Regions from separate parts of the Homo sapiens genome. Here all the other regions are linked to region 1. The links are contacts of gene promoters, found by promoter capture Hi-C in blood cells and fetal thymus (Javierre and others, 2016). All regions are on one chromosome and are shown on one strand. The core of a region is centred on a gene start or on the middle of the fragment in contact, and the rest is flanking DNA. Distances in the headings are between cores, read along the strand shown.

Region 1 (3,015 bases), core at 155-2,654:
CCAGATGATGTTTCAGGGGTTCCTCCCAGCTCTAAAATTCCATATCCTGTGAAGTATTGAGTATCATATCAGATCCAAGTAACTCATTCATCATTTACCCTCCCGACTCCCACCCTGTCCTTAGTTCTTCTAGCCCTTCTTAGAGGCTGTCTTACTTCTAGCCCATCTTACAAAGAAAGGGAAATGAAAAGGGAAGGACTAGATCCCTTGATCCAGATCCTTACTCCCATCCCTCCTTCCATTCCCACCCCACCCCTATCTTCTGTCCTCTACCCCTACTAGATGTTGTATTCCAGCTCCAGGGCTGCCATGGGCACTCCAAGAGGAGAACAAGGTACCAAAGTCCAAGAAAGAGACAGAAATTTTGACCCATCTCAAAATTTACACATGGACCTGAACCATCTGTAGATTTTAGACTCCTTGCAAAGGCATTTTATTCCTTGGGATGACACTCTGGGTATTTTGTATTCTAATTTCTCCTTCTGCCAGATGGTCTATAAGGTTCGAACTCTTAAAAAAAGTGCGTTACATTCCCATTTTAATGTAGCATTTTGGATATTTACTGATCTCCTTCCTGCTTTCTTCTTTCTTTTCTTCTTTCCTTTCTTCCTCCCCTTCTCCTCTTCTTCCTCCTCCTGCATCTCTTCCTTCCCCGGTCAAGGAAAGGCCTGGGGCTGGAGTGGGGGTGGGTAGAGGGTTCTGATCTCAGTTCTTCCCACCTATTTAGAGAGAAGTGCGAATATTCAGCTCACCTTGCCGCCGAGACAGACCATGCCTTACCAGCTTCTTGCAGCTTTACGATGAGTCTCTCTCGGTTTCACAGGGCAGTTATTACTCATGACTGATGCTCACCGGCCAAGCCTAAACGTGTGGCACACTCCCCATACCACACACAGACACAAACATTTGCCTGGCTCACATGAACCGGGATGAGGATGCCATTTCCACCTGGGAGGAGCCACGTGACCAGGCGTTCTCAGTAGCCTCCACTGGTGTCAGGGGGAACAGAGCATTCGGCTGTTGCCGGTCTGCCTTTCCAGGACTAGCATCCATGGAAGATGGGGTCCATCGCCAACCTGCGAAGATGTGGAAGGCAAGCCCCTCATTCCAGAGCCAGAAGCTGTGGCCGGCTTCCCCTTCCCATCTCCAACCTGGGCTAATGACAGCTGGCAGATGCTTGGCCATGATGACAGGTCTTTTCGAAGATGTATTTTTACCCTCTGGATAAACAGCAGTTGGCAGGAGTGGGGCGTTTTTATGAGTTGAGGTACTCAGGACTGGAAAATAAACAGCCAGTTAATGAGCCGGTCTTATGGAAACTTGCATAAATAATAACAAAGAAAACATCCCGTCCCTCATGCCTGGGTGAGGGGATATAAAAGCTGCCATCCAGATGGCTGGCCACCGTCAGTCGTGGGGAACTCCGGCTGCGTTACCGACCTGCGAGCTGACGGGCCCGGACCATGGGGTGCTGCCCGGGGGACTGCTTCACCTGCTGCACCCAGGAGCAAAACTGCTGTGAAGAGTGCTGCTGTCAGCCGGGCTGCTGTGGCTGCTGCGGCTCCTGCTGTGGCTGTGGGGGCTCTGGCTGCGGGGGCTCTGGCTGCGGGGGCAGCTGCTGCGGATCGTCTTGCTGTGGATCTGGCTGCGGAGGCTGTGGAGGCTGCGGAGGCTGCGGGGGTGGCTGCTGTGGATCCAGTTGCTGTGGGTCCAGTTGCTGCGGCTCCGGGTGCTGTGGGCCTGTGTGCTGCCAGCCCACACCTATATGCGACACAAAATGAAGACCTTTCCCTCCACCACTGATGCAGTCCCACCGAAAGCCTCCATCTGCTCCAGGGGGACAGCCCCTCGTGTCCAGAACCTTCCATACCCCCAAGACAGTGTCTTGTCTTTCTGTGATTTGTAGAGGAGGGCTTGTTCTCCAACACCTTCTCTGGTATTTCAAGGCACCGAGAACAAGAGCCATACTCTGATGAAACATTAAAACTCGGTCACAACTAAGTGATCCCAAGCTCAAGGGTGAATCCCCAATACTTTACTTATTCACATGAAGTTCAATGTCTTGTACTATAAGACATCCTCTTCTTCAAGGTGTCTTTGGGACTGATCCTCCGCCCTGGCTTTCTGCAGCTTTGAGATGCAAAAAAGGTCCATCTTCTTTGTGAGCCTCTTAATAAATTTGAGCATGCTGGCATAACCTAATTAGTTCTCTTGCCTCTTCCTTGACCTCCCTGCTGAGGACTGGGTTAGAAAAATTCACTCTGGCATCTGCCTTAGGGTTTTTGAATTGTGGTTTTTGGATCACCTGCGTCGGAATCACCTGGGAGCTTGTTAAAACTGGAGACTCTGAGGCCCTCCCTAAGACATACAGAATCAGAATCCACCAAAGTGTGGCCTGGGAATCTGTGTTTTTAACAAGAACCTTAGATAATTCTTATGCACTGAAGTTTGAGAACCATAGATCTAGACGGAAGCTTCCGTGTGCTGCATGAGATTCACTTGAAAAGCTTTTAAAAATATAGATCATTGGGTTTTATCACTGGAGATTTTACCCGTTAGCTCTAGGGCCTAGAGTCCCTAGGGACCTGCATTTTTAAAAGCTCCTGGGTGAATGCTGATGCTGGCCACATTTAATGGTGATTGAGGGGCATGGCTTTCTTCTGCACTACAGCTCTCCTAGGATGGTTCTGCAGGAGGGCTTCAGGCTTGATCAGAACTTTCTGGCAAAGTCGGAAAGGAGGCTTTGGTAAAACAAGATTGGTTCTGAATGGAAAGGATTTCTAATGGCAAAGCTAGTGAATTCACAGTTTCTGAGGATGTTCTGCGCAGTACAGTTCCTTCTTCCAGCCTCATGCTTGGTCCAGTCTCACTTTTCTGTGCTAGGTTGTCTTACCTGGAACCAGCTACGTTTCTTCTGCCTGAGTTCTAAGGAGGAGGGAGTGAGTATACCTCTGCTAGGTAGGGCCCAGCCAAGGTGTGTGGGTCCACCTGGGAGGTTAAAACTCAAAAGACAGT
Region 2 (3,015 bases), core at 271-2,770, 440 kb after region 1:
TGCAAATAAGTGGGATTGAGTTTGATTATTATATAGAAAATAATTACATGATTCATTTAAGAATAATAATATCCACCATTTATTGAGCACTTACTATGAGCCTGTGTGCCAAACATTTCATGCATTTCTCATTTAATTCTCACAATAATCCTGTGAGGTAGAAGCTATTAGGTTGAATCATATGAACTTGCCAATATATGATAATTTCTAAGAGTTGGGAATTTTTGAGGATGTGAATGGTACCACTTTGAATTCCTAAGATGTAATATAATATCTAACACATAGCAGGCACTTGATTCATTATTTTAAATTGAAAGAATAAAGATTTTTTTAAAGCTTTCCAATATATGATAATTTCTGACTTTCAGAAATAGCAATTTTATATGCTATTATATAGCATATATAATAAGGTTCAACCTTATTATGTTACCCCCACTTTACATATGAGGATAAATGAGGACTCATATGAAGACATGAGATAAAGACTTTCCCAAAGTCAAGCAGTTACCAAGTAGTAGAGCGAGACTGAACCTCAGCGCTGTTTCTCTAAAACCAGGACACCCTCATAAGCAACTAATTACATAACAAAGCAATACATGATTCACAGTTGAAATAGGCACTTGCCTATCCGCAGTTATTTTGTTGTTTTCTAATTGTCATTTTCATCAGCCAGACACAACAGCCAATTGTGGCAAATGTCCAGCTTTGCTGGCTAACATCACACATGACTTGATTCAGTACAACTTTTGTCAGAAAAGGTATTCTCACCTATTCTCATTGCCTTCTTTTCCAAAGTGAAAAGATTTCACTCATTTTTTTCTTAATTTTCTTCCAAGTCACGCTAGCTAGTAAGTTGCATTTAAAGATGTTAAGAATATTTAAAAGTGAATTCTTTTTCACCTACTGAGACACATTCCAGAATAGTCTGAAACTTTGACATGCAAATACCAGACTGTGAATCTGATTAATAAGAAACCTATGCAGATGGGTTTGTAACTGATTAGGCCTGACCACTGTTATATGGCAATGATGACACTGTGTTAAAAGAGGTAGGATTGTTATTCTTAATTTAGGATGGTCCTCTTTTAACTACCTGTTAAAAGAAGTAGAATTGTTATTTTTAGATCAGAAAAATGAAGATTTTTTCTTCCTCTTGCTTCTTTGGTCTGTCTCTAGTTTCTTCCAAGCAATCTTTCAAAGAAGTGAGTGAGAGCTACATACATGTGGACCAGATGGTGGAGTTCTACCTCCAGTTCTGCCAGCAGTTACTGTGTGAAAGTGAAGCATTAATCTTTGTATCTATCTATATTTCTGATATGAGCTAAGAACTAGAATGACATAATCCTATTTCTGACAGGTAAACAGATCCAGAGAGAAGTCTTTATCACACATTAGAATTATCATCAATGTATTTTTTCATTTTATATGAAATTGTCAGTGCAGAAGTGAAGCTATCAAACTCAGAGAGAGCCCCTAGAGGTGAGGTTAGGATGGAAATAACTATTTTTTCTGAGCTCTGGAGATTATTTCTACCCAGAGTTCTGAATCATCTAAAAAGGAGAATGACATGGAGTGATACAAAATCAAAACATGGCCAGTGACCTCCTCAGACACTCTGTTCTCATCCACATGCATCAGGATCAGCCTCAGGTACCTGATTAGACCCCCAAGTAACAATTCCAACTTAAAGCATTAGTAGTGATTTTTATTTTTGAATTCTCTTTCAAACATCTCTGTTTTCTCTCCCCTAGGCTCATTTCCAAGATTCCTCTCATCAGGGTATTATTTTATCATCTTCCTGTCTCCTACCACTTTCAAAATTCTCCCCTGCTTTCAAGAACCATTGATCTCTGGAGCCCAGAAGTCAATCTCACTCATACCCCTTAGGGTCCTTGTTTAACCCTCATCTCAAAAGCACAATACATAAAATGTAGGCAACCCAAAATTCTCTCAGTCACTCACAGGATTTTATAATGTTATCCAAAGTGAAAGATGTTACAGATCAAGGGATCAGCGAGTTGCAGAAAATGACAGGTCTGTCTTACGGGAAAAAACTCAGGTAGAAAACCCTGCAAAGACCAGGACAGAAACCAACCTGACATGAAAAGATGAGGGTATGATTTACTCAATAAAAATCTAAAGACTTGTAAAAACCACATAACTAATTTTCTCTATTTTGAACATTTCCTAAACTCTACAAAAATGGAAGATATAATTCTTTTGAACAGTTTGCCCTGGCTATAATCATTTTCCTCTCTGCCTCAACTTATGCAATCACTCTGCCAACAAGCCCAAGATTGTTTATTGTTTTTTACATCACCACTGCCTTATACATTAATGTGGCTGTCAAAGAAAATTATTTTCACTTCTAAAACCTCTAAAGCAGAGTCTTGATTATTTAACTTAGCCTCCCACTTAAAAAAAAAAAAGCCACTGAAGAAGAAATATTTCCCTTTTCAACTTCTGAAGTTGCTCCCCATTCATAACTGAATTCAGAATAAATATTGGTCAAAGCATACCAGTAAATTAGGGCACAGTCATTTTCAAATGAAATGAATTTCAAATGACACATTCAAACACATTAAGACTTAACTTCTTTCAAATGAAATCATTCAAGGAGTGCAGTGATAAAGTTCAGCGAAACACTAGGCTAGGACTCAGGATAAAAAATAAATTAGATGTAGTACCTACCTAACAAGCTTAGTCTAGGATAATATGTTATATGTATAGAAACATAAACAAATAATATATAAACATAATTTTTAGAGATTGAGCAATATTATTTAAATTTTACCATAGGCATTAGAGTTGGAAAGTGTACCTTTCAGCACAAAATCAATTCCAAGTTCAAAAATTCAACTTAATCATATTCCCGTATTATGTGATCAAATCACTGAGGTACAATTTTGAACTTGGCACATTTCTTTTGACATTTTATTTGCTTCTGTTTTCATTTCTATGGCAGTAAAATGGAATCTCTCTGTCTTGGGGGACACTTGGGAGTGAATAATAGTT
Region 3 (3,015 bases), core at 195-2,694, 420 kb after region 1:
TGTTGGGAAAAGCGTTCTTTCCCTCTCTCTTTCCATCCCTCCATTTCAAGCTCAATCCTGTACTCTGCAACAAATTTTCAATATGAAGCTTCTCTTTTAACCAGTCGGATGCTTTGTATGGTTTGTTTTTCCCTTTTTACTTAAGTGTGTGCACATTAAAAAGTAATGAAATACCCCACCGAGCAGAAATGTGAACACATCTGCCGTTTGCATTCTGAAAAACGAATTAATAATACATCTCTTCATCTAGTCTGATGCATCCATATACATCGTGCCTTGCTCTAGGAGCATTCTGGAGCCAATGATCGCCGCCGTATCTTAGAGCACCTGTTTCAATTTTGTGTGATTAGTAGCACGGGAAGGACCATATTGAAAGAGGAGGTCTCTAGCCCCAGGTAGAAACAAAAATGTATTGAGTATAGACCTTATATTCACCTTTTAAGCAGTAATTTCGTTGATGAGAGTTTTGTTTATACATCAGGATGTTGTTGCCAAGACAGTTTTCCTGGGTCATGCAAAAGCACTAAAAATCAATTTGCAGAGCAAATATTATGTAGCTTAATCTCAACTTTCTATATTTGTACCGTTGCTATAGGCAAGTCATTAATCTGCATATGCCTCAGCTTTTCATTTGTAAAATGAGGATGGCCTACATGACTTTCAAGGGCTCTTTCAGATATGATAGCCTATATGGTTCTTTGTATTTAGAAACAAGCCTCATGAAAAATAAAAACACATGGTGAGTGATTTGTCACTTGCTTACTTGTTTTCAAAAATAGTAAGTTTGGGTTGTCCAAGTAACATAAAAGCATATCAGAAAATTAAATCACTGATGATTTCTCCCTTAGAACATAGTCTAAAAAAGTTCAATGCTAATTGGTTATTACCATTTAGTTAGCTAACAATATTATAGCCTATAGCTAGGCAATATTTTCTAGAGCTTTCACAAGCACCATAAATTCTACAGTCTTCAGTTATCACAATGAATGAAACGCTCAATGATGTGATAATGCAGCAGTTTAGAGAGAAGAAGCCTCCAGGCAGCAGCAAGGGCTATGCAAGATGGCAGCCTCTCCCAGGAGATGCTGTTTCCTGTGGTCTGTCTGTGCAGATTTGACTCTGGAGTTTTGGAAGACTGAGTGAACTAGAATCATGGTGGTAATTTATATATGAGGGATAAACATAAGAATCATCAAGACTGGCACCGGGCATGGTGGCTCACACTTGTAATACCAGCACTTTGGGAGGCCGAGGTAGGTGGATCACCTGAGGTCAGGAGTTCGAGACTGACCAACATGGTGAAACCCCATCTCTACTAAAAAATACAAAAATTAGGCCAGGCGTGGTGGCTCACACCTGTAATCCCAGCACTTTGGGAGGCGGAGCTGGGCAGATCACCTGAGGTCAGGAGTTTGAGACCAGCCTGACCACCATGGAGAAACCCCGTCTCTACTAAATATACAAAAAATTAGCCGGGTATGGTGGCACATACCTGTAATCCCAGCTACTCAGGAGGCTGAGGTAGGAGAATCGCTTGAACCTGGGAGGCAGAGGTTGCAGTGAGCCGAGATTGCACCATTGCACTCCAGCCTGGGCAACAAGAGCAAAACTCCATCTCAAAAAAAATATATATATATATAAAACTTAGATGGGCATGGTGGCAGGTGCCTGTAATCCCAGCTACTTGGGAAGCTGAGGCAGAAGAATCGCTTGAATCCAGGAGGCGGAGGTTGCAGTGGGCCAAGATCATGCCATTGCACTCTGGCCTGGGCAACAGCGCAAGATTCTGTCTCAAAAAAAAAAAAATCAATAATACTGGAGAAAACCTTTCCTACGTACCTTATCAGTACCTTATTATGCACTCCCAGCCTGGTCTCCAAATCAGAATACTCAACAGTCTTCCTCTTCATCCAGGTCTCCTCCACCTAAATCTGACACAAGTGCTACAAACTTGGCATTTCCACAAACACACCATGTTTCCCTTTGCAATGAGATTCTGTCATTTGCAACAACATGGATGGAACTGGAGGTCATTATGTTAAGTAAACCATCTCCCAAACCATCTCCCAGTCCTGTCCCAGTGTCCCCCTTGCCATGGGGTACCACTATCACCACCCAGTCATTCTCATCTCATCCTATTCCCCATGTCCCACACCCACTCATTCCACAAAGGAATCAGGGCCAAAGCCCATGCACACACTATACCCAAGAAAGAGAGACATGCACAGGAGAGATGAACGGGGTGACCAACTGTCCTGGGACTGACTGTCCCAGTTTTAACTCTGAAAGTCTCACATTGCAGAAAGCTCTGTGTCCTGGGCAAACCAGGACAGTTGGTCATCCTGGAGGGAAGGAATTTGAGAGCACAGGGATGGCTTCCTGGAAGAGATGACATGCAGAAGAAGAGAAGGGGATGGAGTATACAGAAGCATGGAATGGAGGAATCAGTGGTGTGTGTTACTGGAGTGTGCCATCTGAGGCATGGAGGGGTGACCAGGGGGTCTAAAAAGGTAGGCAGGAGCTAGATCTTTGAGAGCTGTATATTGGACTTGACTACATACTGTTGTCAGTTTTTTACAGAAGTGAAATAATCAGATTTGCATTTTTAGGTAGGTGTTTGAGACTGGACCTCAACGTTCATGAACTAATGATGGCTAGAAACAGGTGCTAATATTATTTTTAAATTGTCAGTAACTTCTTTACTATGATTCTAGAGGTAGGAACTAGAATTAGTCTTGGTGACAAATTATTCTTCTGTTTTGGGAGGAATTCAGTTGGGCTCTCTCTTAGTCAAGCTTGTGTAAAATAAGTACTCACTTGTCCTTGGCATAACACTGGACATGGGCAAAATAACACGGATACGGAGCCAATTGCAGGGGTGAAGAGGACCGTTGAGCCTGTGGCTTCCCAGTCAGAGATTTAGGATGTTAAATCCAAATGCAGCCCTATCTGGTTTCAAACGTCACCTCTGGGATGAAAAGATTATATCCATCTTGGCTAGGCACAGTGGCTCAC
Region 4 (3,015 bases), core at 185-2,684, 380 kb after region 1:
TAAAGTGCTGGGATTACAGGCATGAACCACCAAGCCCGGCCTAATTGAAATTTTTAAATACAACAGTTAATAAAAGCTTCTATTCCTCAGAAAAGCAAGCATATAAGCATGCAGAGAAATTTTTGCATATAGTTTTAGAGATTTTACTAACTTCTTAAAGTCTATCTATTGCATTCCATGTTTAAAATTGCAGCTGCAATTGACTGTTTTCAGCTGGGAACATTTTCCCAATGGATAAGATGCTACAAGGGCATAAGCATGAGTGGTCAAGTAAAGCTGATATAAAACACTTTGTTACAGCATGATCCTCAGACCGTTTTCTCATATTTCTATTTGTCCAGGAAAAAGGGGCCAACAGAGAGATGATGTGAGTTATGAAGTCTTCAATACAGTATTTCAAATGAGGAAGAAAACAACAGCCAACTTGAGTCGCTTACAAATAGTATCTGTATATAGTGTCTGTTCATGTCCTTTGCCCACTTTTAATGGGCATGTTTTATTTCTATAAATGTCTAATCTTCTTATGTAACCTTCCAACTCATAGGATAATAGCATAGCAATTTTGCCTGAAGACCTACTACTCATCTGTGCTGAAATATCATGTGTAGTAAAAATGTATTTGAGAGTCATTTTGGCCATCTTTCTCTACTATAAAGAACGGGTGCCTATAAAATGCTTCATTAATGGAATGGTTGTCTTGAAAAGGCACACAAACAGACGGTGTACCCAGTTCATGACAGCTACCTTCTGACAGGGCTCCCTTCTGACCCCAACACACCCACATGCAACCCCATGCATTCACTCAACAGCTGAGCTGTCTTACAAAGTACCCACTCCCTTTCAAGACGACAACTGAGTTCATCAGAAAGATGAATCAAATGTGAAAACTACAAATGTTTCAGCCAGAAAATCATGCAAAGCAGAATGATTTTGATTCTGAACAATTTGCACTCTACAGAAATACCAAAAGAAATCCTGAAACCATATTGCAAGTGAAATGCTTGTGAACCAAAAGGATCAGTAAATGTTGGCCATTTACTGAGGAAGCAGTTGGAGGCTTCATCCCTCGCGTTCTTTAAGAATACTTCAAAAACAAGCTCAGCACTCTGCCGTTGTCCTCCCTAAAAGCAAAAATCTGCAACAAGTGGCTCAGCGTTGCTTTTCTTTCCAGTCCTGCGATTCCAAAAATCCTGGCATTTACAGGCCATTTTATCCTTCTTAAAAATGTAAAATTTAAAAGAATGTGATGAACGTTTTTAAATTCTAGAAAAACTATGTCACTAAAGTGAATTCATTTTAGTTCCTTATTTGCCAATTAAAATGTGTTAATTGACTTAAGTTTTTCTAAAATGGAATAAGTCGCAGGAGCCCATTTTTCCAATTATTCTAGCCATTCTTTTGTCTTCCAATACATACACATAGTATCTGAAAGGATGTTCACCAAATGTCACCAAACGTTGTGTGTGTGTGGTAGAATTTTTAAATATTTTTTCCTGTACCATCATGTATCACTTGATTTTGTATAATAAGCATGTATCATTTCTTTTAATGCTTTTAAAATGATGCTTTTAAAAAAGCATCATTTCTTTTAAAATCCAATGGAACTCTACACATTAGAAGTTATGGAAAACCAGGGCCGGGTGCGGTGGCTCATGCCTATAATCCCAGCACTTTGGGAGGCCGAGGTGGGTGGATCACAAAGTCAGAAGTTCAAGATCTGCCTGGCCAACATGGTAAAACCCCGTCTCTACTAAAAACTACAAAGATTAGCCGGGCGTGGTGGCACGCACCTGTGGTCCCGGCTACTCGGGAGGCTGAGGCAGAAGAATCGCTTGAACCCGGGAGGTGGAGGTTGCAGTGAGCCACGATCACATCACTGCACTCCAGCCTGGGCGACAGGGCGAGACTCTGTCTCAAAAAAAAAAAAAAGAAGTTATGGAAAATTGGCTGGGCAGGGTGGCTCATGCCTGTAATCCCAGCACTTTGGGAGGCCAAGGCAGGCAGATCATGAGGTCAGGAGTTCAAGACCAGCCTGGCCAACATGGTGAAACCCCGTCTCTACTAAAAATACAAAAAATTAGCTGGGCATGGTGGTGCGCACCTGTAATCCTAGCTACTCGGGAGGCTGAGGCAGGAGAATCGCTTGAACCCAGGAGGCGGAGGTTGCAGTGAGTCAAGATTGCGCCATTGCACTCCAGCCTGGGTGACAGAGCAAAACTCCATCTTGAGAAAAAAAAAAAAAGAAGTTATGGGAAACCATCATATAACAGTACTAGAAGAGACTATTTCTCCCCAGTGCTCTCAGATCTCACCACCAGTTTTTCCTGGCCCTGGTCCTGCTATGACACAAGAAATCTTTTGCTCAAGGATAAGTCCTATAAATCAAAACTCCCACACATGGACATAAAATGAGACAGTGGCCAAATCTATGGGGTTGATAAGTCACTGCCACTCAGACATGCCTGAAATAATTAGAGAAGCATTAATTTCATTGTAGATTCTGGTGAGAGAATTTAGAAAAAGGCAGTGCAGCCCGGCCCTTGCACATGCTAAAGGTAAATGTTTTCTTCCTTGGTAAGTCTGGGTCCAGGCGAACAGGAACCAGAGCTGACCATAACTTTGATGACCAGGAACCGTCCACATCCACAGAACACTGGTTGCCACCACTCGCCAAACAAGTCTCTCTAGTTCCCTCATTTGCTCTATTTTTATCACTTGTCTCTTTTGTCTTTTTCTCATATCTGAGATGTAAGTGACTGTCGGCACTCTTTCTAAGCACTCTCCAAGCTTCCCTGAGGCTTGGAGGCTCATTTTTCCAGCTCGTGCACAGTGAAATAAAAAATATTCAGAGACTCTTCCCTGATAAGGTTTTGTTGTAAGACTGGGAGGAGCAGAGCTGGTGTGCTTTTGGGTGGCTTTATTTGTAATTGGAAAAGATTGGCCTTCATGGATGGTTAATCTATACCCAGGAGAGGCGTTTTCCTACTTTCTAGTTCTATAACTCACAGTCCTAAA
Region 5 (3,015 bases), core at 234-2,733, 350 kb after region 1:
CACACTGCTATAAAGAAATAACTGAGAGTAGGTAATTTATAAAGGACAGAAGTGTAACTGAGTCACAGTTCCACATGGCTGGGGAGGCCTCAGGAAACTTACAATCATGGCTTAAGGGGAAGCAGGCACATCTCACTTGGCAGCAGGAGACAGAGAGAGACCAAAGGGGGAAGAGCCCTTTATAAAACTATCAGATCTTGTGAGAACTCACTCACTATCCTAAGAACAGCATGGGGGACACCACCCCCATGATCCAATCTCCTCCCACTAGGTCCCTCCCTTGACACATGGGAATTATGGGAATTACAATTCGAGATGAGATTTGGGTGGGGACACAGAGCCAAACCACTGCTACGTACTACTCTGGTTTAGCCCTGAAAATACCTACTGCTACTAGCACTGGTTCAAGGTAGTATTTCAAATCCACTGGCTCCAACACAATATCTGGAGCCATAAGGGGAAGAAAGGCCTCCAACATCCCCTCCAGCTTTTCTACAAGAAGGAACCCAATTTTTCTGTCCTTACAGTCTTCCCATGTTTGTAGGCATCCCTATACAGGCTTCTGCCACCTCCCATTGGTACAAGTCAATATTGGTGCAAGTCAATATTGGCACAATCCCGTATTTGCACCATAGAGACTATAATCTCTCATGATCAATTCCACCTTTATCCTGTTTCACCCATTATCCAGCCCTGGAAATGATCTAAATTTTTTGGAACTCTGGTCTTGCTACTCATTTTTTTTTAATTTTGCACACATTTAAACACACAGTCCTACCTGAAAGAGTCTTAAATCATTTTATAGCATCTCAATAACACCTGTAAATCATGTATTCCTTTGTTGTGGGCTATATTTTAGACACAATTAAGCTAAATCGTAGCAGTTAGAGTGAAACAAGAACACAAAGGGGTTATCTGTTCACCAAGTGACTTCACAGTCTTTTTCTTTCCTTAGGAAATCAATTCTTTACAGTGTCAGCTTGGGGAGAGACTTGACATTGAAGTGACTGCTGCCCCTTCTGCTGACCTAAACCAGGTTCTACAAGAAATGAGATGTCAATATGAGCCCATCATGGAGACAAACCGCAAAGATGTGGAACAGTGGTTCAACACGCAGGTGGGGGATATAGAAAAGTCAAAAACAATAAGCTGATGCTGCATTTCTAGGGCCCTTTAATCAAAGTCATGTTTTCCTCCCATAATATTCTCAGTCTCTGGCTGTGTGTTTCAGATAGAGGAGCTGAATCAACAAGTGGTGACCAGCTCTCAACAGCAGCAATGCTGCCAAAAGGAGATCATAGAACTGAGACGCAGTGTGAACACTCTGGAGGTTGAACTGCAGGCCCAGCATCGAATGGTACTGAGCAAGCTGACCAAGCCTAGCTCAGCAAAGATGGAAACAGTCCCTTACACCTGTGTGCTGCAGTATTTCCCAAACTGTGTCTTTCAGAACAATAGTTCCTCATTTGTTAAAGCGTCTATGGCTGAAAAAGAGCTTTGTGGCCAAATAAGTCTACGAAACGCTGCACTAAACCAAGGTTAAACAGGGTGCCTTCCTGTGAGCCATTAATAAGCTAATATACACCATGAATCTCCAGGAAGGGGGTATATGGTATTCAGCATTCCAAAACTTATTTGACTGTGGATCCCCCCACTTTTTTTAGAACATCTCATGGTATTAATGATTCATGAAGTACACTTTGGGAAACACTGGGAGAGCATTTTATTATATGCAAAGCATTTTTACAAGCTATCACATGAGATTTATAAAGCAATCCTAAGAGGGGGGGTGGCATAATTATTAACGAATGTTACAGATGAGGCTCCAAGAGCTAAAGTGATTTTCCCAAGCAAATCCAAGGTAAGTTTCAGCCCACCTATTTTATAGAGACACTGAGATCCTGAGACATTAAGAAACTCATCCAAAGTCACAAAAGAAATAAGAGTCTGAGCCAGAGTTTAGATTCCAAAGCCAGTATCATTCTGTCTCATGATAATGCCTCTCTGAAGTAGAGAATTGCTTACATGCTCTGATGTGAAGGCTTTTGGGAAGACCTTGCCCCACACTGGTTTTGTCACCAGCTAGTCATGTGACCTTGGACAACATATTGAACCACTTGAACCTCAGTTTTCTCATCTATAAAAATTGGGATAATCATGCAAATAATAGGCTATTAAAACCTAAAATCCCATCATTATCCATAGACTTACAGAATGATAGAGCAGGAATGAAATTTACTCATCAGTTTCAACTTTCATATTTTACATATAAAGGAATTGATCTGGTGGATAAATTGTATATGGTAAAACATTGCTTCCTTCCTTTTTTAAGACACGAACACTCACTGAATGAAGTGCCATGGTAATGCTTTTTTTTTTTTTTCTTTTTGAGATGGAGTCTCACTCTGTCGCCCAGACTGGACAGCAGTGGCACGATCTCGGGTCACTGCAACCTCCACCTCCCGGGTTCAAGCAATTCTCTGCCTTAGCCTCCCAAGTAGCTGGGATTACAGGTGCCCACCAGAACACCCAGCTAATTTTTTGTATTTTTAGTAGAGACGGGGTTTCACCATCTTGGCCAGGCTGGTCTTGAACTCCTGACCTTGTGATCCACCCACCTGGGCCTCCCAAAGTGCTGGGATTATAGGCGTGAGCCACTGCGCCCAGCCAGTAATGCATTTTTAATGCCTGGGTGTGCATTAAGTTATTATTTTTTCTCTCCTAAGTAGGAAAGTGTGGTGCGAGACTATTGGTTGGTCAAGAAAGAGAAAGTGAAACAAATACTTACAGAGAAGCAAAAAGAGAAAGAGAGAAAGAGGGAAGAGATAAAGGAAAGCAGATTTTAGCATAGTTGATCATTTGGGTTTTGGATTTATTTGATTAGGAAACAATAAATAAAGTGCTTGGAGATCTATCAGTAGTGTCACAAAGAAACCATTTTTTTTAAATGATACAGGTCACAGGTGACCTGGGCTTAAAGGAGTCATTATAAATCCTACTATCCTTCTCCATGGT
Region 6 (3,015 bases), core at 332-2,831, 330 kb after region 1:
GCTCTCTCTCTCTCAATCTCTCTCTCTCACACACACACACACACACAAATATTCTCTATATAATATTTTAAAGTTAAGAATGTTTTAAAAGCTTGAATTTATCATTACTTAGGAATTAAGAGAAATTATGCACATGGCTTCCTGAAGTCCGTGTGTCGATCCTCCATGTATCCCCACACTTTGCACAGCGTTCAGCAAAGTAAGCGTTGGATTTCTCTTTTGCTGTGAAAGGTACGAGAGTGAACTGTCCCTTCGCCAGCTGTTAGAGGCTGACATCAGCAGCCTGCATGGGATCCTGGAGGAACTGACCCTGTGCAAATCTGATCTGGAGGCCCATGTGGAGTCTCTGAAGGAAGATCTCCTTTGCCTTAAGAAAAACCATGAAGAGGTAAGGAAAGTGGCAACTCCGCTGAAGGACTCCGAGAGTAACGTACTTACATTGACAGATGATCTGTTGATGTTTGTAAATCGAATTTGGGCAGATGTTGTTTAAGCTGGAATAAAACTACTTGAGGCAGGGCCAGGCATGGTGGCTCACACCTGTAATCCAAGCACTTTGGGAGGCTGAGGCAGGAGGATCACAAGGTCAGGAGTTCGAGACCAGCCTGACCAATATGATGAAACCTCATCTCTACTAAAAATACAAAAATTAGCTGGGCATGGTGGCAGGCGCCTGTAGTCCTAGCTACTCGGGAGGCTGAGGCAGGAGAATCACTTGAACTCAGGAGGCGGAGGTTGCAGTGAGCCGAGATCTTACCACTGCACTCCAGCCTGGGTGACAGGGCGAGACTCCATCTCAAAAAACAAACAAACAAACAAACAAACAAAAACTACTCGAGGCATTATTACTATTCAACCTGATCATTCCAGTGTGTCTCTGATTTAAGGTGTGAAATAACCCCTAGACAGCGCCAGAGGAAGGAATCAAACTCTTCTCCTGCCCTTGCCTTTGTGGAGGAGGTAACTTCACAAATGGCTTCCTTTGGAGGCTTTATGCCACCCCTAGCTCCAGTCCACAGGGTATGAAAATCAGGCTGAGGAACAGACTGTGAAGTCCATTTCAAAAAAGGGATAAAGACTGTGCACTATCTGGACCAGTGTTTTTAAATATTCCGCATTTATAAACTTCTAAAAATCATAAAATATACAGCCACTGATATATTGATAAAGCTAGAAAATGAAAAGCTGAATGATGTAACAAAGTACATTTGCTCTTTGAACGTTTGTTGATGACAATCATAGCTAACATTTATTGACACCTTACTATGTGTCATAATTAACTTTTATAAGTTAATTATGTGTAGATTGACTCTTCTAGATCTCACAATAACTTTCTGGAAAAATGTCCAATTATTATGTCCATTTTACAGACGAAGAAACTGAGGCCCTTCTAAGTGGTGAAAAGAGATTCAGCCCAGGCAATCTGAATCAAAATCTCACACTTTTACCCACTGCTCCAAAAAACAGAAGTAGAATGCCATTGGATGTCAAATGGATTTTTCCCCACCATTCTGTGACATTCTTTACACCATCCCACTTTCAGGAAGTCAACTTGCTTCGTGAACAGCTTGGCGACCGCCTCAGTGTGGAGCTGGACACTGCCCCCACCCTTGACCTCAACAGGGTCCTGGATGAGATGCGCTGTCAGTGTGAAACGGTGCTTGCCAACAATCGCAGAGAAGCTGAAGAATGGTTGGCTGTTCAGGTCAGTACCCAGATTGAAAAAATGTCAGGCTTACAGACTTCTGCCTTTTTTGAATTCTCTAATGGTGTCTGTGTTTCAGACAGAAGAGCTGAATCAGCAGCAACTGTCCAGCGCGGAGCAGCTGCAGGGCTGCCAGATGGAGATCTTGGAACTGAAACGCACAGCCAGTGCTCTGGAAATTGAGCTCCAAGCACAGCAAAGCCTGGTGCGTGAGGCAAAGGCAGTGTCCGTTGTGTCACTGATAAGTCAGGCCCTGAGATGTTAAGCCCTCTTCCATATCCGAGGATCACATTTCCTTGCCTTTCCCGAGTACTGCCGTTTACCCAGCTATTAATAGAAGCAGAAGTGACAGGTCCACAGCTTGTCCTCTAAGATGCCTTACCTTCACTCCTGGGCTTGAGTCTGATGCTGCAGCAGCCTCCAGAGACAGGGAGGGAGAAGCAGAGCTGGAGAGAAACCTCCGGGCCATGGTCGCTTAAGCATTCTGGCAGGTTTTAATTCTCATTTGATTCAGGCCAGTTTTCCAGGCTCACTGTTATATCTAAAACAAAGAATCATTTTCAAACATTTCATCCTACAGTTTCCCAGGATCTACACTTCAACCTTATCCTTCACTGCACCACCCCCCACTCAAGCAACAGGAACACCATGCGTTCAAGATGACATGAACCAGTTCTGGTCAAGCACCACTGTGTGCATGTCATTAGGCCCTGCGGAGAACACCTAGAAGAACAATAGCTGAGCATTCATCCTGTGAGAGGCACTATGCTGATTTAAGGCTCACAGTAACTTTACCGGATAGATACCTTTATCCCATGACACAGATAAGGAAAACTGAGACTCAGATTAAGTAACTTGCAAAGGATGCAATTCTAAGAGGCAAACTTGGAAGCTGAGTTCAGCCAGTTGAATCCCAGAGTCTCTTCTCTCTCTCTTTTTAAATTTATTTTTATTGATATATAATATGCGTAAATTTTTTTTACGTAGATGTGATATTTTGTTACATGCATAGAATGTGTAATGATCAAGTCAGGATATTTAGAGCATCCATCACCTCAAGTATTTATCATTTCTATGTGTTGGGAGCATTTCAAGTCCTCCCATCTAGCTATTTTGAAATGCACAGTGTATTGTTGTTAACTGTAGTCACACTTCTCTGCTGTCCAACATGAAAACATATTCTTTCTGTCTAACTGTATGTTTGCACCCATTAACCAACCTCTCTTCATCCCCTTACCACACATATGCCAGTCCCAGCCTCTGGTATCCAGAGCCTCTTCTCTTAATAGCACTATACTACCCCTCCCTGC
Region 7 (3,015 bases), core at 235-2,734, 290 kb after region 1:
TTATATTTTGCACTTTGCAACCCAACTTAAAAGATATTCTCTTAAGAAGTTAACACGCTGGACACGGTGGCTTACGCCTGTAATCCCAGCACTTTGGGAGGCTGAGATGGGTGGATCACGAGGTCAGGAGATTGAGACCATCCTGACTAATATGGTGAAACCCAGTCTTTACTAAAAATACAAAAAAAAAATTAGTCAGGTGTGGTCGTGGGTGCCTGCAGTCCCAGCTACTTGGGAGGCTGAGGCAGGAGTATGGCGTGAACCTGGGAGGCAGAGCTTGCAGTGAGCCAAGATCACGCCACTGCACTCCAGCCTGGGCAACAAGCAAGACTCTGTCTCAAAAAAAAAAATTAACACAACCTAGAACAAAACAAAACATATTTTACCATTTAATTTTTAAATTCTTCATTAGGCATTAGAGTGTAATACACAAAATACAATAGGATGCAAATATAGAAAGAAACACGTTTTCCACATTATTTACAAGCTCCCAGAACTTACCTCTATATTTAATTGGTAGCAATGATGGATTACACACAAAATTATGCAATTTCCAAGAGGAATAAAGTAGATGGCAGTACATTTTTCAAAGTGTCATAACTCCTAGATATTTTTTCCCGAGCCCGGTTCCACTACTAAATCCAAAAAATAAAATAAAATAAACCAAAAAACACATTTCCTAGTCTCTTTACAGCAAATAACAAGACTCTTTCATGAGAAGTACTACAGCTTGAAAGTTCTCTTTAATCATGTTTGAGTGGTATTGATATCCATGAATCAAGCCTTTTACTCCACCTATTCAATAAACATTTATTGAATCAGATTCAGTAAACATTTATTAAGGTTCTACCACAAACTAAGGACTCTGCTGGATACCTTCCTAAATACTATGTCAGTTTGGTTCCCAAGAACAGATTTCTGGTCTGGAACAGGAATAATAGTCACACATTCCAAATTGGTTGAAATCAAAGGAACTATAATCGGTAATTCAATAAGACATTGGAACAAAAAAAGGTGAAATCTGCGAATTATGTATGACCAAAGGTATTCCTTCAGTTCAGTAGATATCCAGATATCCAAAATTCAATAAAATTTAGTCTATATATCTAGGAGGAAAAAATAATAGTTAAATATAACAGCACAATTATTACTCTTAGCCTTAGAGGTATGGATAGATTGTCACGTGGAATAACTATTATGTAAAATGAGAGCATTCATTTGGACTAAAATGGAAGTACTCTTTGAACATGGGAAACCACAAACATATTCCAAAGAGCAAAGGACTGATATGAGGAGTCCAGAAGAAACTATAAAACAGTAATTTCTAAACTATTGCTCATAATGTGTCACAAGTATTTCAACATAAGCCAATCAGAGATCCACGGAGTAACAAATTTAAACAAAAACAAAGAAAATATGTTAACAATTTTGTAAACAGCAGCTGGTTCAGATATATAAAAGGACCAACGTGGAAGTCACCACCAAACCTCAGAAACTCCTCCAAGCAACCTAACTCTTAACCCAACTTCTGACACCATGACCTGCTGCCAGACCAGCTTCTGTGGATATCCCAGCTTCTCCATCAGTGGGACCTGTGGCTCCAGCTGCTGCCAGCCAAGCTGCTGTGAGACCAGCTGCTGCCAGCCACGCAGCTGCCAGACTAGCTTCTGCGGATTTCCCAGCTTCTCAACCAGTGGGACCTGCAGCTCCAGTTGCTGCCAGCCAAGCTGCTGTGAGACCAGCTGCTGCCAGCCAAGCTGCTGTGAGACCAGCTGCTGCCAGCCAAGCTGCTGCCAGATCAGCTCCTGCGGAACTGGCTGTGGCATTGGTGGTGGCATCAGCTATGGCCAGGAGGGCAGCAGTGGAGCTGTGAGCACCCGTATCAGGTGGTGCCGCCCAGACAGTCGTGTGGAGGGCACCTACCTACCCCCCTGCTGTGTGGTGAGCTGCACGCCCCCATCCTGCTGCCAACTGCACCATGCCCAGGCCTCCTGCTGCCGCCCGTCCTACTGTGGACAGTCCTGCTGCCGCCCAGTCTGCTGCTGTGAGCCCACTTGCTGAAAGCCAGTTTGCTTATTTTCAATTGCCTAGGTCACAGTGTCTCTGAACTGTTCATCCCTTGACCACCTCTGGACCACTAACAAGTTCTCAGACTTTGCATTGCTTGTGATGGAGACTACTAAGTATATGAGCTCACAATTCTATCTGATTCCATTCTACAATGAATACCTTGACCCTTCACTGGGGACACAGAAATGCTACAAAGCCACCTGCTGATCATCAATTTGCTTGGGATATACTATTTCTGATATTTCTGCAGGATTAAAAATTACTGACATGTTGTGGAATTTATCCATGAGAACTATCCACAAGTCTAATGTTTCCATGCTTTATAATCTATTTTATCTTGTTTACCTAAAATTTTTTGCAACATCAAAGACACCAAATTATAGCCAAGTGACATTCCTCAAGTCACCAGAGAGAATGGAAGCTCATCACCCAACATTCAGCTTCTAAGAAGTAGGCTGGACTTTCCACATTTTAACATCTGATCCATCCCTTGGTTTTTGGATCATAATGATCTTGCCTGCTGGATATTTCAGTTATATCTGTGATACAATGTCTTCTGTCATTTCTTAATAAATATTATATACTAGGCAAAGAAACCATTGTCTTTGTTTTCACTTGTACATCACCTGGTTTAACTGCTTATAATTCAAGAATGTCTACTTGAGGCCAAGAGCAGTGGTTCACACCTGTAATCCTAGCATTTTGGGAGGCTGAGGTGAGTGGATTACCTGAGCTCACGAGTTTGAGACCAGCCTGGGCAACATGGTGAAACCCTGTCTCTACTAAAAATACAAAAAAAAAAAAAAAAAATTAGCTGGGCGTGGTAGTGCACACCTGTAGTCCCAGCTACTTGGGAGGCTGAGGAAGGAGAATCGCTTGAACCCAGGAGGCAGAGGTTTCAGTGAGCTAAGATCATGCTACTGCACTCCATTACACTATGCAATA

Evidence for each region. Contacts are between HindIII fragments. The CHiCAGO score rates a contact against its expected background, and 5 or more counts as called.
Region 2: a contact is called between a fragment that was not itself captured here and the fragment with the promoter of KRTAP17-1 in region 1, in 6 of 17 cell types (M2 macrophages, endothelial precursors, M0 macrophages and 3 more). The highest score is 9.1, in M2 macrophages.
Region 3: a contact is called between a fragment that was not itself captured here and the fragment with the promoter of KRTAP17-1 in region 1, in 8 of 17 cell types (M1 macrophages, M0 macrophages, M2 macrophages and 5 more). The highest score is 12.7, in M1 macrophages.
Region 4: a fragment that was not itself captured here is called in contact with the fragment with the promoter of KRTAP17-1 in region 1 in 5 of 17 cell types (naive B cells, total B cells, erythroblasts and 2 more); the score reaches 6.9 in naive B cells.
Region 5: a fragment that was not itself captured here is called in contact with the fragment with the promoter of KRTAP17-1 in region 1 in 2 of 17 cell types (endothelial precursors and M0 macrophages); the score reaches 7.1 in endothelial precursors.
Region 6: a fragment that was not itself captured here is called in contact with the fragment with the promoter of KRTAP17-1 in region 1 in 1 of 17 cell types (endothelial precursors); the score reaches 5.3 in endothelial precursors.
Region 7: a contact is called between the fragment with the promoter of KRTAP1-5 here and the fragment with the promoter of KRTAP17-1 in region 1, in 3 of 17 cell types (M2 macrophages, erythroblasts and total B cells). The highest score is 9.0, in M2 macrophages.

Annotation. Positions count from the first base shown.
Region 1 is chr17:41,314,099-41,317,113 of GRCh38, reverse strand. KRTAP17-1 (keratin associated protein 17-1) reads left to right here and starts at 1,404. Exons shown (of 1, transcript NM_031964.2): 1 at 1,404-2,202. The coding sequence starts at 1,464. The coding sequence ends at 1,781. The HindIII fragment of the contact is 4,540 bases long and covers 1-2,476 here.
Region 2 is chr17:40,871,925-40,874,939 of GRCh38, reverse strand. The region is part of intron 1 of LOC105371777 (a long non-coding RNA gene); the gene reads right to left. Among named protein-coding and RNA genes, the nearest start is that of KRT12, 6.2 kb to the right of the region's middle. The HindIII fragment of the contact is 2,363 bases long and covers 339-2,701 here.
Region 3 is chr17:40,891,969-40,894,983 of GRCh38, reverse strand. All of the region lies in intron 1 of LOC105371777 (a long non-coding RNA gene), which reads right to left. Among named protein-coding and RNA genes, the nearest start is that of KRT20, 8.2 kb to the right of the region's middle. The HindIII fragment of the contact is 2,707 bases long and covers 91-2,797 here.
Region 4 is chr17:40,938,510-40,941,524 of GRCh38, reverse strand. The region is part of intron 1 of LOC107985072 (a long non-coding RNA gene); the gene reads right to left. Among named protein-coding and RNA genes, the nearest start is that of KRT23, 2.4 kb to the right of the region's middle. The HindIII fragment of the contact is 2,711 bases long and covers 79-2,789 here.
Region 5 is chr17:40,960,504-40,963,518 of GRCh38, reverse strand. KRT39 (keratin 39) reads left to right here. Exons shown (of 7, transcript NM_213656.4): 4 at 956-1,117; 5 at 1,232-1,357. The region is part of intron 1 of LOC107985072 (a long non-coding RNA gene); the gene reads right to left. Among named protein-coding and RNA genes, the nearest start is that of KRT39, 4.9 kb to the left of the region's middle. The HindIII fragment of the contact is 5,264 bases long and covers 1-3,015 here.
Region 6 is chr17:40,979,680-40,982,694 of GRCh38, reverse strand. KRT40 (keratin 40) reads left to right here. Exons shown (of 7, transcript NM_001389244.1): 3 at 232-388; 4 at 1,544-1,705; 5 at 1,785-1,910. LOC107985072 (a long non-coding RNA gene) reads right to left here. Exons shown (of 4, transcript XR_001752886.2): 3 at 2,088-2,246; 4 at 1-367. Among named protein-coding and RNA genes, the nearest start is that of KRT40, 3.1 kb to the left of the region's middle. RefSeq lists an enhancer at 2,088-2,689. The HindIII fragment of the contact is 2,975 bases long and covers 94-3,015 here.
Region 7 is chr17:41,025,677-41,028,691 of GRCh38, reverse strand. KRTAP1-5 (keratin associated protein 1-5) reads left to right here and starts at 1,484. Exons shown (of 1, transcript NM_031957.2): 1 at 1,484-2,666. The coding sequence starts at 1,537. The coding sequence ends at 2,061. The HindIII fragment of the contact is 9,785 bases long and covers 1-3,015 here.